Linked DNA regions of Homo sapiens: all the other regions are linked to region 4. The links are contacts of gene promoters, found by promoter capture Hi-C in blood cells and fetal thymus (Javierre and others, 2016). All regions are on one chromosome and are shown on one strand. Each heading gives the region's core, a stretch centred on a gene start or on the middle of the fragment in contact. The rest is flanking DNA. Distances are from core to core; before and after follow the strand shown. Region 1 overlaps ZBTB10 (zinc finger and BTB domain containing 10). Region 2 overlaps LOC105375920 (a long non-coding RNA gene). Region 3 overlaps TPD52-MRPS28 (TPD52-MRPS28 readthrough). Region 4 holds the start of PAG1 (phosphoprotein membrane anchor with glycosphingolipid microdomains 1). Region 5 overlaps IMPA1 (inositol monophosphatase 1).

What was found. The method cuts DNA at HindIII sites, captures the fragments that hold promoters and counts their contacts. A CHiCAGO score of 5 or more calls a contact.
Region 1: a contact is called between a fragment that was not itself captured here and the fragment with the promoter of PAG1 in region 4, in 8 of 17 cell types (fetal thymus, activated CD4 T cells, naive CD8 T cells and 5 more). The highest score is 12.7, in fetal thymus.
Region 2: a fragment that was not itself captured here is called in contact with the fragment with the promoter of PAG1 in region 4 in 1 of 17 cell types (total B cells); the score reaches 5.4 in total B cells.
Region 3: a fragment that was not itself captured here is called in contact with the fragment with the promoter of PAG1 in region 4 in 1 of 17 cell types (non-activated CD4 T cells); the score reaches 5.9 in non-activated CD4 T cells.
Region 5: a fragment that was not itself captured here is called in contact with the fragment with the promoter of PAG1 in region 4 in 1 of 17 cell types (M2 macrophages); the score reaches 5.0 in M2 macrophages.

What each region holds. Positions count from the first base shown.
Region 1 is chr8:80,489,241-80,492,023 of GRCh38, reverse strand. The region is part of intron 1 of ZBTB10 (zinc finger and BTB domain containing 10); the gene reads right to left. Among named protein-coding and RNA genes, the nearest start is that of ZBTB10, 4.4 kb to the right of the region's middle. The HindIII fragment of the contact is 4,296 bases long and covers 1-2,783 here.
Region 2 is chr8:80,179,029-80,181,841 of GRCh38, reverse strand. The region is part of intron 3 of LOC105375920 (a long non-coding RNA gene); the gene reads left to right. Among named protein-coding and RNA genes, the nearest start is that of TPD52-MRPS28, 8.9 kb to the right of the region's middle. The HindIII fragment of the contact is 5,996 bases long and covers 1-2,813 here.
Region 3 is chr8:80,138,070-80,140,879 of GRCh38, reverse strand. All of the region lies in intron 1 of TPD52-MRPS28 (TPD52-MRPS28 readthrough), which reads left to right. All of the region lies in intron 1 of TPD52 (tumor protein D52), which reads left to right. Among named protein-coding and RNA genes, the nearest start is that of TPD52, 32 kb to the left of the region's middle. RefSeq lists an enhancer at 2,252-2,301. The HindIII fragment of the contact is 4,101 bases long and covers 1-2,810 here.
Region 4 is chr8:81,110,814-81,113,513 of GRCh38, reverse strand. It overlaps PAG1 (phosphoprotein membrane anchor with glycosphingolipid microdomains 1), which reads left to right and starts at 1,446. Exons shown (of 9, transcript NM_018440.4): 1 at 1,446-1,923. RefSeq lists a silencer at 1,311-1,440 and an enhancer at 1,931-2,000. The HindIII fragment of the contact is 5,316 bases long and covers 1-2,700 here.
Region 5 is chr8:81,659,336-81,662,103 of GRCh38, reverse strand. It overlaps IMPA1 (inositol monophosphatase 1), which reads left to right. Exons shown (of 9, transcript NM_005536.4): 8 at 1,437-1,588; 9 at 2,638-2,768. The coding sequence ends at 2,753. Among named protein-coding and RNA genes, the nearest start is that of IMPA1, 26 kb to the left of the region's middle. The HindIII fragment of the contact is 627 bases long and covers 1,110-1,736 here.

The sequences.
Region 1 (2,783 bases), core at 99-2,598, 620 kb after region 4:
AAACAAATTAGGCTGATAGATCTGCCTTACATTCTTTTGTTTGCTCAGCTACTGACATCAATATATTCCAACTGGAAATTTCAATCAGATCACTGGTCTGAATTCATTACTTAGTTTCTGTAAAGGTTAACTAAATTTACAACAATAATACATTTGGATGCATGTTTCTCCCAGGAAGAGTTGACAGGATGTGTGATTTAGGCTATGAAAATTTCACAATTAGGTAGAAAGTGGTCTAAACCAAGAATAACTGGTAATCACTGTTATTAAGGAATTTTAAAGTCTTCTGGGCCAAATGGTCAGATACTGAATGAGCTAATCATTAAACCTGACTCTGACGATGTAGTCAATTGTTACTCAAAATTAAACTATTAATTGTCCCTCACATCCTTATAAATACAGGGACACCTCGGAAATAGAAGGCTCAAAACACAGACTCAGAAAGCATGTTTTAAAAGACTTTCCCATGAACAGTCCACAATAACCAAGGTCCAATTAACAGAAGGATTAACTTTTTGGTAACTACCAAGGGATTAACAAAAAGATACTTTTCTTACTTAGAGGAAAGTAACCTTTCATGACATACAGTTATGCATCACTTAACGAGAGGGATATGATCTGAGAGATGCATCGATTTTGTCACTGTGCCTTAGCGTACACAAACCTAGATGGTATAACCTACTACACACCTAGGCTATATGGTTGGGCCTATTGCTCCCAGACTACAAATCTGTACACTATGTTACTGTAAGGAATACTTTAGGCAACTGTAACACAATAGTATTTGTGTATCTAATCTATCTAAACATGAAAAAGGTACAGTAAAAATATGGCACACCTTATAGGGCACTCACCATGAACAGAGCTGGCATACCTGGAAGCTGCTCTGGGTGAGTCAGTGAGTGGTGACTGAATGAAAGGCCTAGGACATTACCATACACTGCTGTAGATTTTATGAGCACCGTACACTTAGGCTACACTAAGTACAGACAGGGTCTCACCATGTTGGTCAGGCTGGTCTCGAACTCCTGACCTCAAGTGATTCACCCACCTCGGCCCCGCAAAGTGCTGGGATTACAAAACAAAGTACGCTACAACTTTACGCTATCACCAGGCGATAGTAATTTTTCAGCTCCGCTATAATCTTATGGGACCATTATCATAAATGCAGTCCATCCTTGAGAACGTCATGCAGTACATGACTGTGTTAAGATGTGGCCAAATTCCTCTCAGAAACGGGACTCTTTGAGAAATAATTGGGAAAATAGGAGTTTAGTACTCCTAGACTCAAAGTGATTTCTTGCCTAAAGAATTCTAAAACTCTCATTTCCATGTTTTTAAGACAAGATATTAAGAGTGTCTTTGTGAAGCTGAGAAAAACTGCATGTATGAGAAATAGGCTCAGAATGTTCAAAGAACCTGATGGCCACAAAGTCTCTGAAGGTATAAAAAGGAGAACTGATTGGTGATCAAAATGAGTAATAACGGCCAGGCTCAGTGGCTCACACCTGTAATCCCAGCATTTTGGGGAGGTCAAGGTGGGAGAATTGCTTGAGCCCAAAAGGTTGAGACCAGCCTGGGCAACATAGCGAGACTCCCGTTTCAACAAAAAACTTAAAAATTAGCCAGGAATGGTGGCGCGCACCTGTAGTTCTAGCTACTCGGGAGGATGCCTGAGCCCAGGAGGCTGCAGTGAGCCTTTATCTCACCACTGCACTCCAGCCTGGGCAATAGAGTCACTGTCTCAAAAAAACAAAACAAAAAGGTAATAATGATAATAAATAACGGCACTAAGTGGTTTTATGCTGGCACATATACTTTGCATACATAACGAAACTAGAAGTTAACTAATTTGCCTGCCTAAAAAGTAGAGATTTAAGAGCAAAGTCCTCTGACCTTAAGCCCAAGTAGGCGCTTACATTACGTGTTGTGTTATACTGCCTCCTATAGGTAATTGGAGACTGAAGAAAAACGAAAAACAAAATGATTGCACTCTGCCCAAAAGAGATCAGGAACCTGTTACTCATGTTACTCATGTTAAGACAAACAGGTATTTATATAGGTGGTACCTGGGGGGTTGATAACAAGATATCCCCTCAAGATTAGTTATAATGAAAGTAATAAATGATTAAGATCAATTCAAAGTGAAAACACCCAAAATCCAATCAAGGAGACCAATATATAACCTTAGGACACACAGGACTTACTAAAACTGTAGCCCTTAATATATGTATATTGTATAGAATGTCCCAAAGAAAGGAGATGGCCTGCAGATTACATTGATGGGGGAATTTAAAGGAGTGATGAGGAAGAGAGTCGTAGTTCGGGTCAAGTTTAGAAAGGTTTTTCCTAGGAATTCCAAGACGCAGATACATACCCAGAGGAGAAGAATACACTCAAGCTGAGGCTACCTTAAGGTTATCCAATTAATGCCCCTTCTTCTGATTTCAGGTTCACTAAAGGAGCTAATTATAATTTGCATTCCCATTCAGATTTGCCTACAGGGAGAGACTATGCTGATAAAGAGGAATTGGTCCACAGCCGATTAAGAAAATTCATCCCATTTAAAATTTTCTAAGTAACCAACATAGCCCTATTTGGAAAATTAAACTTTCATTTTCACAAGTCCCTTGCAACTCCATCATCTTACTACATAACTTCAGGAATGTTACTTAACCCTTTAAGGCTTTAGATTCCTCTTCTGTAAAATGGGAACAAAAAATAAATACTTTGCAGAATAAATGTGTTTGGCACACGGAAAACCAGGAGCTGTTAGTTCCATT
Region 2 (2,813 bases), core at 208-2,707, 930 kb after region 4:
CAACTGAAACTCTGTACCTGTTTCTTTTCTTTCTTTCTTTTTTGTGTGTGTGTTTTTTTTTTTTTTTTTTTTTTTTTTTTTTTTTTTTTGAGACAGGTTCTTATACTCTGTTGCCCAGGCTGGAGTGCAGTGGGGCAATCATGGTTCACGGCAGCCTTGACCTCCCGGGGCTCAAGCAATCCTCTCGCCTCAACCCCACAAGTACCTGGGACTGCAGGCATGCGCCACCACACCCAACTACTTTTTGTATTTTTTGTAGACATAGGGTTTCACCATGTTGCCCAGATTGGTCTCGGACTCCTGGGTTCAAGCAATCTACTCGCCTCGGCCTCCCAAAGTGTTGGGATTATGGGCATGAGCCACCATGCTCAGCCCGTACCTATTAAACAATGTAGATTACTGTTAATATGATAAGCTCAGTGTTAAAAAAATATCAAGAACAAACTAAAGAGGATAATAAAAATAATCTGGGCCTATCATCAAGAAGTAACTATTATTAACATTTGTCAATGTCTTGCCAGATATCTTTCTGTGCATAAGATCGAATATGCAAATCTATTTTTTCCAAAAATGTGATCACAATCTGCTTTGCTTTCTCATCACGAAGAATGTTTTGTCCATCTTCCTACGCACCATAGATTTTCAGAGCTGAAAGGAAAATTGGAAATAGTGTCAGTAAGGGTCCTTATATTTCACTGGAAATGTGTGGGGCTTGAGAGCTCTCTTCAAAGAACAAACACAGAGATTTCATGGCTACTTCAAGGATTCAGGGAAATAGCAAATAACTTCTCCCTAAAAAAAAGTTTGTGCTACCTAGTATATTCATGCAACCTAATTTGTTTTTTTAGCTTATTGTCTCACTAATTTATCAGTCTTTTTATTTTTACTTTCCAGTTTTTAGTTTTTTATAGTTAAACATGTACATATTTTAAAGAGGCAAACAAGGATTTTTGCAAAAAAGCAAAAAACAAAACAGAAAAACCCAGCAGTCCACCCTCTTACCCTTTGCATTTTCCTCCTTGAAGGCAACCACTTTCAAATCAAAATCATTTAGGTTTTCTGTTTGTTTGTTTTTGAAAGAGTCTAGGCTCTGTCGCCCAGGCTGGAGTGCAGTGGCGCGATCTCGGCTCACTGCAACCTCTGCCTCCCTGGTTCAAGCCATTCTCCTGCCTCAGCCTCCAGAGTAGATGGGATTACAGGCTCCCACCACCACACCTGGCTAATTTTTGTATTTTTAATAGAGATTGGATTTCATTATGTTGTTCAGGCTGGTCTTGAATTCCTGACCTCAAGTGATCTGTCCTCCTTGGCCTCCCAAAGTGCTGGGATTACAGGCATGAGCCACCACACCTGGCCTAGTTTTTTTTTTTTTTTTTTTTAAATAACTTGCATATATTGATAATTCCAGTTTTCGGCATTATCCACCAGTTTTCCACTATGAATGATGAGGATTCATCCTTTCTATTCACCCCTCAGTATTACTCATTCCTAACTTTCTTACCTGCTCCCATTCTGTCTTTTCAATCTAAGAAGAAAATAAGGTAGAAATCACTTTTCTTCAGTAAATTAAGCCTAATCCTCCATTGTCTTCTAGTTTTGTTGTCCATGACTCCAAACCCATTGTTATTCCTTTTACTTTGAATGTGACCATTTTTTTTCCATCTCTAGAACTTGTGGGGTCTTTATCTCCAGTGTTCTGAACTTTATAAATTTGTGCCGTGTTCTCAGTGAGCCCTTTCAATCTGGAAATCCTTCAGTCTGGGGAAATTCCCTGAATTATTTCACTGATTCCTTCTTTTTTTCTGTTTCTTCCATGTCTTTCTCTTGGCCTCTTTTTTGGATGTTAGACCTCTGGGATCAGTCTTCTGATTTTCTTATATGTTCCCCTTTATTTTTCATACCTTTGTTTTTTGGTCTTCTCTCTAGAAAATTTACTTTATACTCCAAACCAACCATGGAGTGGCTTAAAGTAGCACAGAGGTATTAACTTATGGTTCTGAGGATCAGGAGTCTAACATGAGCCTCACAGGACTAATGTCAAGGTATCTAGGACTAACAAGGTATGTTCTTTCTAGAGGCTCTTGAGAAAAATTTGTTTCTTGCATATTCAGGTTGTTGCAATTCGGTGTCGCATGATTGTATGCTAAGGTCCTGTTTTCTTGATGGTGGTCAACTAAGGGCTCATTCAGCTTATAGAGGTCACCCGTACTCCTTGGCCCATGGTCCCCTTTTCTCCATCTTCAAAGCCAGCAAGAGTGGGTCAAGTCCTCTCATGCTTTCGAAACTCTCCTGCCTCTTTTTCTGTTGTGGCATCTCTCAGTCACAAGATTCTCAGCTCTTAAGAGCACATGTAGGTGGGGTGCAGGGGCACACACCTGTAATCCCAGCACTTTGGGAGGCCAAGGTGAGCAGATCACTTAAGCTCAGGAGTTTAAGATCAGTCTGGGCAACGTGACAAAACCCCGTCTCTACAAAAACATATGAAAATTAGCTGGGTGTGGTGGTGCTCATCTGTAGTCCCAGCTACCTGGGAGGCTGAGGTGGGAGGATTTTTTTGAATCCTGGAAGTCGAGGCTGCAGTTAGCCAAGATCATGCCACTACATTCCAGCCTTGGTGACAGAGTGGGACCCTGTCTCAAAAAACAAAAACAAAAGAGCACATGTTATTAGAGTGGGTCCATCTGATAATCCAGGATAATCTTCCTCTCTCAAGATCTCTAACCTTTATCAAGTCTGTAAAGTCCCTTTTTGCCAAAGGTTCTGGGATTAGGACACAGACATCCTTGGAGATCTTTATCCCAAATGATACCTAC
Region 3 (2,810 bases), core at 197-2,696, 970 kb after region 4:
TGTTGAGTTTAGGGTTAAATCAAATCTGAGGTGACCCACTCGTTAGTTTGGTAGTGTTTCCCCATCGTTTTCCTGTTGCTAAGTGGTGCAGGAGTAGAAGCTGGTGCAATAGTTTCCTAGAGTGCGGTGCAGCTAACCCTTTTACGTACATCATATTGTTTAGAATTTGTTACCACCTTCAACCAATTCATATAAAAATAGATTACATGTGGGAGTTGTATTTGTTTGTGTGTGGTGTGCATCCAAGTCAGTGTTAATTTTAAGTGAGTGTCCTGCACTCTGGGTGTTTTTCGTAGCTACAAGGAAGCCTTAACCGTTGTTACTTACAATGGATTACTTTTCAAAAGTTGTTTAATCTCTTTCAGGTCATTAATGGCTTGGAGACTAATAAGCAAAACCATTAAATACTACTTTATGTCTGAAAAAAGAGTTAATGTTCCTGGAAAAAGCGAGCTGTTTTCTTTAGTTAACAAGGTGGAGCTGGTGTTCCCAGTGGTTCCGGTTCTAATAAGACTTGATGAGTTGGAAATGATGTTATTCTGGAGACAACTGTGGAGTAATTAGAATTTTACCTCATTTTAATTAAAAGATTCTAACTCTAACCTACCTTCCCAGGCATTTGGGAAAGGCACAGGTAGGTCTCCTTGCCAGTGAGGCTCCACTACTCACTTGTGGGGTTGACATCAGGAGAACCCAGGACTTGGGCCTTAGTGAGGTCTCACGTTCTCACCACTAAACAAAGAGAAAGCATTTATGCAGGCATCGAACCAGCGTCTGTGTGTCACAGCTGGACTGGTGCTGAAAAAATCACCAGGGCCTTAGCATAAAACAAAGGCTGCTTTATTATGTTGAGAGCATAAATAGGCTTCTTTTCTTTTTTCAGTCAGATATGAAATTAGAGTTGCTTACTGCTAACATGGAGCCTGCTGGATTGAGCTGTTTTGCTCACTTCTGCCAGATAATCAGAAGAGCCGGGTGGGGTCCCCTAGCTGGGTGACTGGGAGTCAGGCATCCATCCCCCGAACATCAGGCTCCCCATTTGTAAATGTCTTGTATTCCTGTCAAGATGGTTAGGAGGATTGAAAAACGCCGTTGTATTTTATTTGATTTTGATAATACACTTAACATGAGATCTAACCTCTTAACAAATTTTTAAGTGTATAATGCAGTATTGTTAGCTATAGTGTTCAAGTGCATTGGGAGGCGCTATCCAAATGCAACCCCTTCCCCGCCCTCACCCCCACCCCCCGTTTATTGCTACTTGTTATTTTCATGGTTGTGCTGAATTTTTCCCCAAGGCAAATCTTTACCTCTGCCCTTGAAGTTGCATATGCCCCAGAGTGGGTAATTATTAACTGTATTAATCTGGACCATATACTGTACAGTCTTTGGATAACCTGGACAGTTTATAATTTTAAATGTTTTAAAAGTTTGCAAGTCTGAAACTCTGAAAAAATTTTTTTTTTCATAAAAATACTAGCCTAGGCTGCTGATGGATGTGGGTTTCTTTTTGGGGTATGAAAATTAGATTGCGGTGATGTTTGCATAACTCTGTGAATATACTAAAAACCAGTGAACCATACTCTTTATAAAAAAATAGTGGATTTTATAGTATGCGAATTATTTCTCAAGCTGCTATTAGAAACAAAACACTGTCCTAATTGTTACTGTAAAAATACCCTTATTTTCTCCCCTCCCTGCCAGTGTCTTAGGCAGAGCAGCCATTCAGTAAATACAGGTGGCTGAGTGTTGAATAATATAGTTGAAATAATCCAAGTGGCACAAATAGATGAGAGTGGAAGTGGGGGCTGCAGTGTCAGTTGTAGAAATCTCACGGGAGGCAGACTCATGGGGTGGCTGAGACGGTGGCTCCTTTGTCAGTGGAGGCACTGGAGGAAGAAGACCCCACTAGCAGGAGAGGCTCTGGGTCGGAGGGGCTGCCATGATCCTGGAAACAGGTCATCTGGTTGGCTCGTGTTTGAAAGTTGAGAATACTAATATTTTATGGTCCAAATTTTGGTTACCTTGGCCTTGTAAATCAGGAAGCCGTCTGATGACAGGATGAGCCTAAGGTGGGGAGGGGAGGATGCGGTGAGCCACAGGTTCTCAATGTTCAGAGAGCCAGTGTCCTTAAATAGCGAGGTGAAGAGCTCAATTAGGAACCAAAGCCAAAAATGAGCTGAGGCAAGATGGTAGAACCCAGGCCTGGATCTGAGCAGTTGTCAAAAGTCTGGTTACAACATTTGAGAGTGTGGTGTTCAGCTACCTTTTTGGATTCAGTTTTAGTTTTTTATTTGCATATTCTTTTTCTTTTTGATAAAGCTCTATGAGGACTATGTTTTCAACTCCCTAGATGCATATAGTCCTGTACTCAGATATAATGTATCTAATCTCTTCCCAGATTTATAATTGCAAACCATAAGCCACTTTGAGTTGTGTTCCAGCACCTGCCGAAGGAGACGACTAAATGATATGAACCCCATTTTCCTCCTAAGAGGGCATTCAAATTCTCTTCCTCTTGGATTTTATGAAATCAGATTTCAGTTGGAAGATTCTGTCACTTGGCCTCTTATTGTCAAACACAGGTACCTTTTAACGCAGACTTCTACTGAGAAATAATTAGAGACAGGGTCTCATGGTCAGGCGCGGTGGCTCATGCCTGTTATCTCAGCACTTTGGGAGGCTGAGGCGAGCGGATCACCTGAGGTCGGGAGTTCACCACCAGCCTGACCAACATGGAGAAACCCCATCTCTACAAAAAATACAAAATTAGCCGGGCGTGGTGGCGCATGTCTGTAATCCCAGCAACT
Region 4 (2,700 bases), core at 197-2,696:
ATGGGGATACTTTTTTATATTATTATTCAACTTAAGAGACCACTGTGAAATTTCAGTGAGGTAACGTATGTGAAATGTTATACTCCATAAGTTCTTAAACACCTGAGTTTCATACCATGCTCTGAAGCAAGAGGCCAAGTCTGGTTCCTGGGTCCGCTTCCCCAATGGGCTTTTCCAAGCTGTAGGCTGAGTCTAAACTGTTTCCTCCCACATACCCTTCCCTCTGCGACACACTAACAACATCCCTTACTCCATCACTGTCTTCCTTACCCTCTCCTGATGAGCCTTCTTCCCCAGCCACCTTTAAGCTCCCATTAATGATATGTGTAACGAGTGTTCAATAGAGTGTGTGTGTGTATATTTAATGCCATTTATATGTTTTTTCTTGCTAAGTAATGCATCATAATTTTAGAAAATTGGGACTAGTCAGATAAAGCACCCGTTGGTTTAGAATCCCTGACTCAAAGTCAGATGTCCTGAGTTCTAGACTTGGTTTGTCTCCTTGTAAGTGCAAAAGTTTATTCCCAATTCCAGGTTGCTAGTGTAAACTTGAAGTTTGGCCCAAACAAAACCCCTATCAGATTTATTTAGAGTGTTGATGCCAAATGGAATTCTAGAAGCCCACCTTTGCCAGGGGCTGAGCCAGAACCACTATCACTGGGGGTACGGCCTGGGCATTTGTTCTGCGTTTTTTATAAGCCCCTCGGGTGACTGTCAGACAGGCCAACTGTTTCAGAAGCTCTGCTCCAGGCTCTAGATCACACGTTAAGTAGCAAGGATGGGGGTCTGGACCTCCAGTATTGGCATCCTCCGAGAGCTTGTTAGAAAGGATGTCTCCCTCATTATCCCAGGCCTACTGAATCTGAATCTTGCATCTCATCACAATCCGCAGGAGATTCTGTCACACACTGAGGGTTTGAGAAGCACTGCTGTACCTTGGTATCTTTAGATACCTACTGATACCTGGGTGGGCCCCACCCAGACATTGTCCTGTACTTGTTCTGGGATGCGTCCGGGGCAAAGGGTTCTTACAAGCTCCCCAAGTTATTTTAATGCACAGCCACAATAGAAGATCACTGTCCCCCAAATGGCAACCCTTTACGGTTAAGCTGTAACCTGAATTAAATTGGCTTTTGTGGGCTCCCCAGGGACCTTAAGGACCGCTTAAACGGTGCTGTTTAAAGGACAATGGGCTCCTGGGACAAGTTCAACCACAGAGCTTTGGGTTCATAAAATCAGGGCAGGGAAGACTTCCTGCATCCTCCCGCGAGCAAGCCAGGCCCCGCGCCGGTCCTCACCCGTGTGCACCCCCAGCCCGGCCCCGCCCGGCTCGCCCCCTCCCGCCCCGCGGCCCGCCCCTCCTCCCCCGTGACGTGCCGCTGCGGCCAGGATCATGCGCACTCGCGCCCCGCTCCCCGCGCGGCTGCTCCGCCTCGGCGCCTGTCATTCTCCGCGGCGCGGCGGCGAGTGCTGGCTGCGGTACCCTCCCGCTCGCTTGTCCGTCTGCGCGCCCGCGATGTGACCAGCCGACTGGGGGCGGGCTGGCGGCTCTGCCTGCGGCAGCGCATCGGTTTTTCTCCTGGCAGGTCCCTAATTGAGCCGTGATTCCCTTGGAGCCAGAGACACCCACCAGGGGCTCGGAGCGCCGCGCTCCGGGGCTGGAGGCAGCTGCAGCGCTCGGGTCCGCGCGGCCGGGTGCAGTAGCCTCAGTCCCAGCCGCCGCCTCGCTGAGTCGTGTGCCCTGGCGAATGCCCGGCGCCCGGCACAGCTGAGCCAAGGCGACTGGTGCAGAGCGGCGGCGCCTGGTCCTGCACTTGCCGCTGCTGCCGGGCTGTGCCGGGGCGGCGGCGCTGCGCGCCGGAGTTTGCAGAGGCTGCCTCCGAGCGCCGTCCGCCAGGAAGACTCCCTGCCTCCTGAGTCCCAGTAAGTTGACTGTAGTTTCTGAAGTTGGAGGGAGCCGTGGGAAGGAGAGGTTCGTTTTTATCTTCTTGTGGGAAGCCGAGGGTGGCACCTCTTGTTAACAGAGTTCCAGCTCGAGGAGGGAGTGCGGGGTGCCAAGAAGGGGACAAGGCAGCTGGAAGGTCTGGAGTCCAGGGCTGGCTGACCTCAGCATCTCACGAATGTGCCAGTTGGAAATATGCTGGGAGAGGACAGGTACTCCTAGGGCATTTCGACTGCTGCGTGCTAATTATTCATTCCAAGCTCCTTGACTCTGTGTTTACGTTGGGGTGAAGGGGCTGGGCAGGGTCTTGTCACCTCCATCCTAATTCCTCTGGGGAGTGTGGCCAGCACTGCGATGGATCTTTGGGCGAGCCATTTCTTTCAGGCCTGCAGGCTTCCCGCGCATCCCGCTTTACTCTTCCCCTAGGCAGAAGTTGCCAACCTTTTCATAATTGGAGCCTAGTCCTTTAGGGAAAAAACAACTTATATGTCGACCCGGTGTTTTATGCCCTAAGGCAAATAAAACGAGCTCTGGGCGTGTGAATTCATACACTTTAAGAATGTAGGCAAGTCTCAAGAAATAGGATTCAGATAATGACACTTGGATTTCACCCTGATTGTCCTGCACCTCTTATGTAAGCCTCCCGGCTGGATAACTTTATCTCTGCAGTGGCTGCAGCTGTGGCCCTCCATTCCATTTGTTTAAAGTCCAATTGAACAGTATTTACTGAAAATGCTGACATGATATAGCGGCCTGAA
Region 5 (2,768 bases), core at 174-2,673, 550 kb before region 4:
GATGGAAAACATGCCAAATCAATGACATCATGTTATTCTAATCCTTTTTAAAATTTATTTGGCATAAAGGATGTACTTAGGTGCAATTTTTTTATTTTTATTTTTGAGATATAAAACAAATGCCACATTAGTCATCAGTTTTCCATGTTTTTAAATAAATAAACTGTGAAAGATCTCATTGAACAGAACTCACTCCCTTATTACCATCGCTTTAAACAGTTGGAGAAGGAATTTGTGTAAAAACCACTTGAAAGTAACTTGTAGACATGATGACGTTTGTCTTCTAAATACACATTTCAGCGTGTGTGTCTTTAATAAAAGGGACATTGTCTAACATAGCCACAGTACAATGATAAAAGTAAGGGAATTAACATGGATACATAATCTAATATAAGACTTTATTCAAATTTTGAAAATTTTAATCCAACATCCAGTCTAGAGTCATGTATTGCATTTAGTTGTCATTTCTCATCAATTTCCTTTAATTTAGAACTTGCTTAGTCTTTGTCTTTTATCACCTTGACATTTTTCAGAAGTATAGGCCAATTATTTTGTAGTCTGTCTCTTGAATTTGAATTTGTCTGGTTTCCTCATGATTATATTTGGATCATGGATTTTTGGCAGGAATGCCGCAAAAGTAATGTTCTGTCCTTCTCAGTGCATTTTATCAGGCACATTTCTTTTTGTCCCATTATGAGTGATATTAACTTGGATAACTTGGTAATGGTAGACCATTGTAAAGATGCTATTTTTCCATTGTACTTATTATGTATCTTGTGGAGAGACACTTTGACACTCTGTAAATTATCAGACTCACCCATTAATTTTAACATTGATTCTTTACTGAATAAATTATTACTATAATTGCTATCAAGTGTATTTATATTCAACTTAACTTGTATTCAAGGAAGAGGTGCTATGAGAGGGCAAACCTGCAGTAATTTTCCAAGGCAGGCTTAGGTCTTTGCAGAGCCTGGCATGCTGTTGTTGCTTTAGGCACATGTATGACGCACACCCAGTTGAAAATGACCCATACCATGATATTTTACACCTCCTAGAGACTATTTGCATTGTGGGTATGTGTATATGTGTGTAAAATAATATAAGCTTTAGTAGCTGGATTTAGACAAATATTAATATACTTGCATTTCATTATTGTAGAATTAAGCATTGTCTTTATTTTTTATGAAAAATTATTGTTTTAATGTTTATCTTATTAAATTATTGCTTTGTGAGGGTTTTGTGATTTATATAATATACGATGATAATTAGATTTATACATATTTTTATTTTACAATTAGATATCACCTCTTAAAATCTTTATCCTCTAGATCGTTCCAAGTTTCTTCAATCGACACTTAAAGTGAAGTTAAGGAGGAATATCTTACTTGAAAGGATTATTTTTTCCAATTTTATTTCTAAATTCTATTTGTTAGGATCCGGAGTGTTGGAACAGCAGCTGTTAATATGTGCCTTGTGGCAACTGGCGGAGCAGATGCATATTATGAAATGGGAATTCACTGCTGGGATGTTGCAGGAGCTGGCATTATTGTTACTGAAGCTGGTGGCGTGCTAATGGATGTTACAGGTAAAATTATGGAGAGTGAAGCAGATCTCCACACATCTGTTGGACTTTTGTCCATATGTAGAATTTAAAAAACTTTTTGATATATGTTATACTGCAGTTTTTGAAGCAGAAACAAGCTATATAATTGTGTGCAAAATCAAAATAAGCTTTAGGAGATAGAGGTAAGGATAAGAGGTAATGGTAATGTGAGACTTACAATGATAAATGGCTAATCCTTTTCTAGTGTGAGTTTCAGGTACTCCTGAAAGGCTGTAGAAAAAGCCTAGACCAAGTTTGTCCAACCTGCAGTCCATGGGCCACATGTGGCTCAGGATGGCTTTGAATGTGGCCCAACACAACTTTGTAAACTTTCTTAAAACATAATGAGTTTTTTGCGATTAAAAAAATTTTTTTTAGCTCATCAGCCGTCATTAGTGCTAGTGTATTTTATGTGTGGCCCAAGACAATTCTTATTCTTCCAGTGTGGCCCAGGGAAGCCAAAATATTCGACACCCTTGGCCTAGACAGTCACCGAGTCTGAGGCTTATACCCAGAGCTCTTTGAATGGTGACAATGGTGATAGTTGATGATGGACTTCCTCCACCATCACTTTCTGTGTTGAGACTAGAGAAGTTAAATAATTGCTTTCAACTGATGGTGAAAATTTTAAACCGAAGGGTGAATCTGTGCTGAAAGAATTCACCAGTGATCTGGGAGAAAGGCAACAAAGAAATAAGGAAATGGGAAGGACAGTGGTATGAAAATGCATTGGATTCACATTTTCTGTCCATAGATTCTTAAACAATAAAGAGGTAATAAGAATGCACAAAAATAGAGAAAATATGACATTTTCTAACTGGTATGACTTCATTATTTACTCAAAAATTATGCTTAGAAACAGTTATATATTGTCTAAGCTTATACATTGTAGAAATGTAACAGTAGATTTTTGTTTAAGAAAACTGAAAGTATTAAAATGTTATGTGACCATAGTACATATTGCTATACTTGTTTTATATGAATTATTTTTGTACCAGATAAAATTATTTTTCATACTTGTTTGCTTTTAGGTGGACCATTTGATTTGATGTCACGAAGAGTAATTGCTGCAAATAATAGAATATTAGCAGAAAGGATAGCTAAAGAAATTCAGGTTATACCTTTGCAACGAGACGACGAAGATTAATTAAGGCAGCCTCAT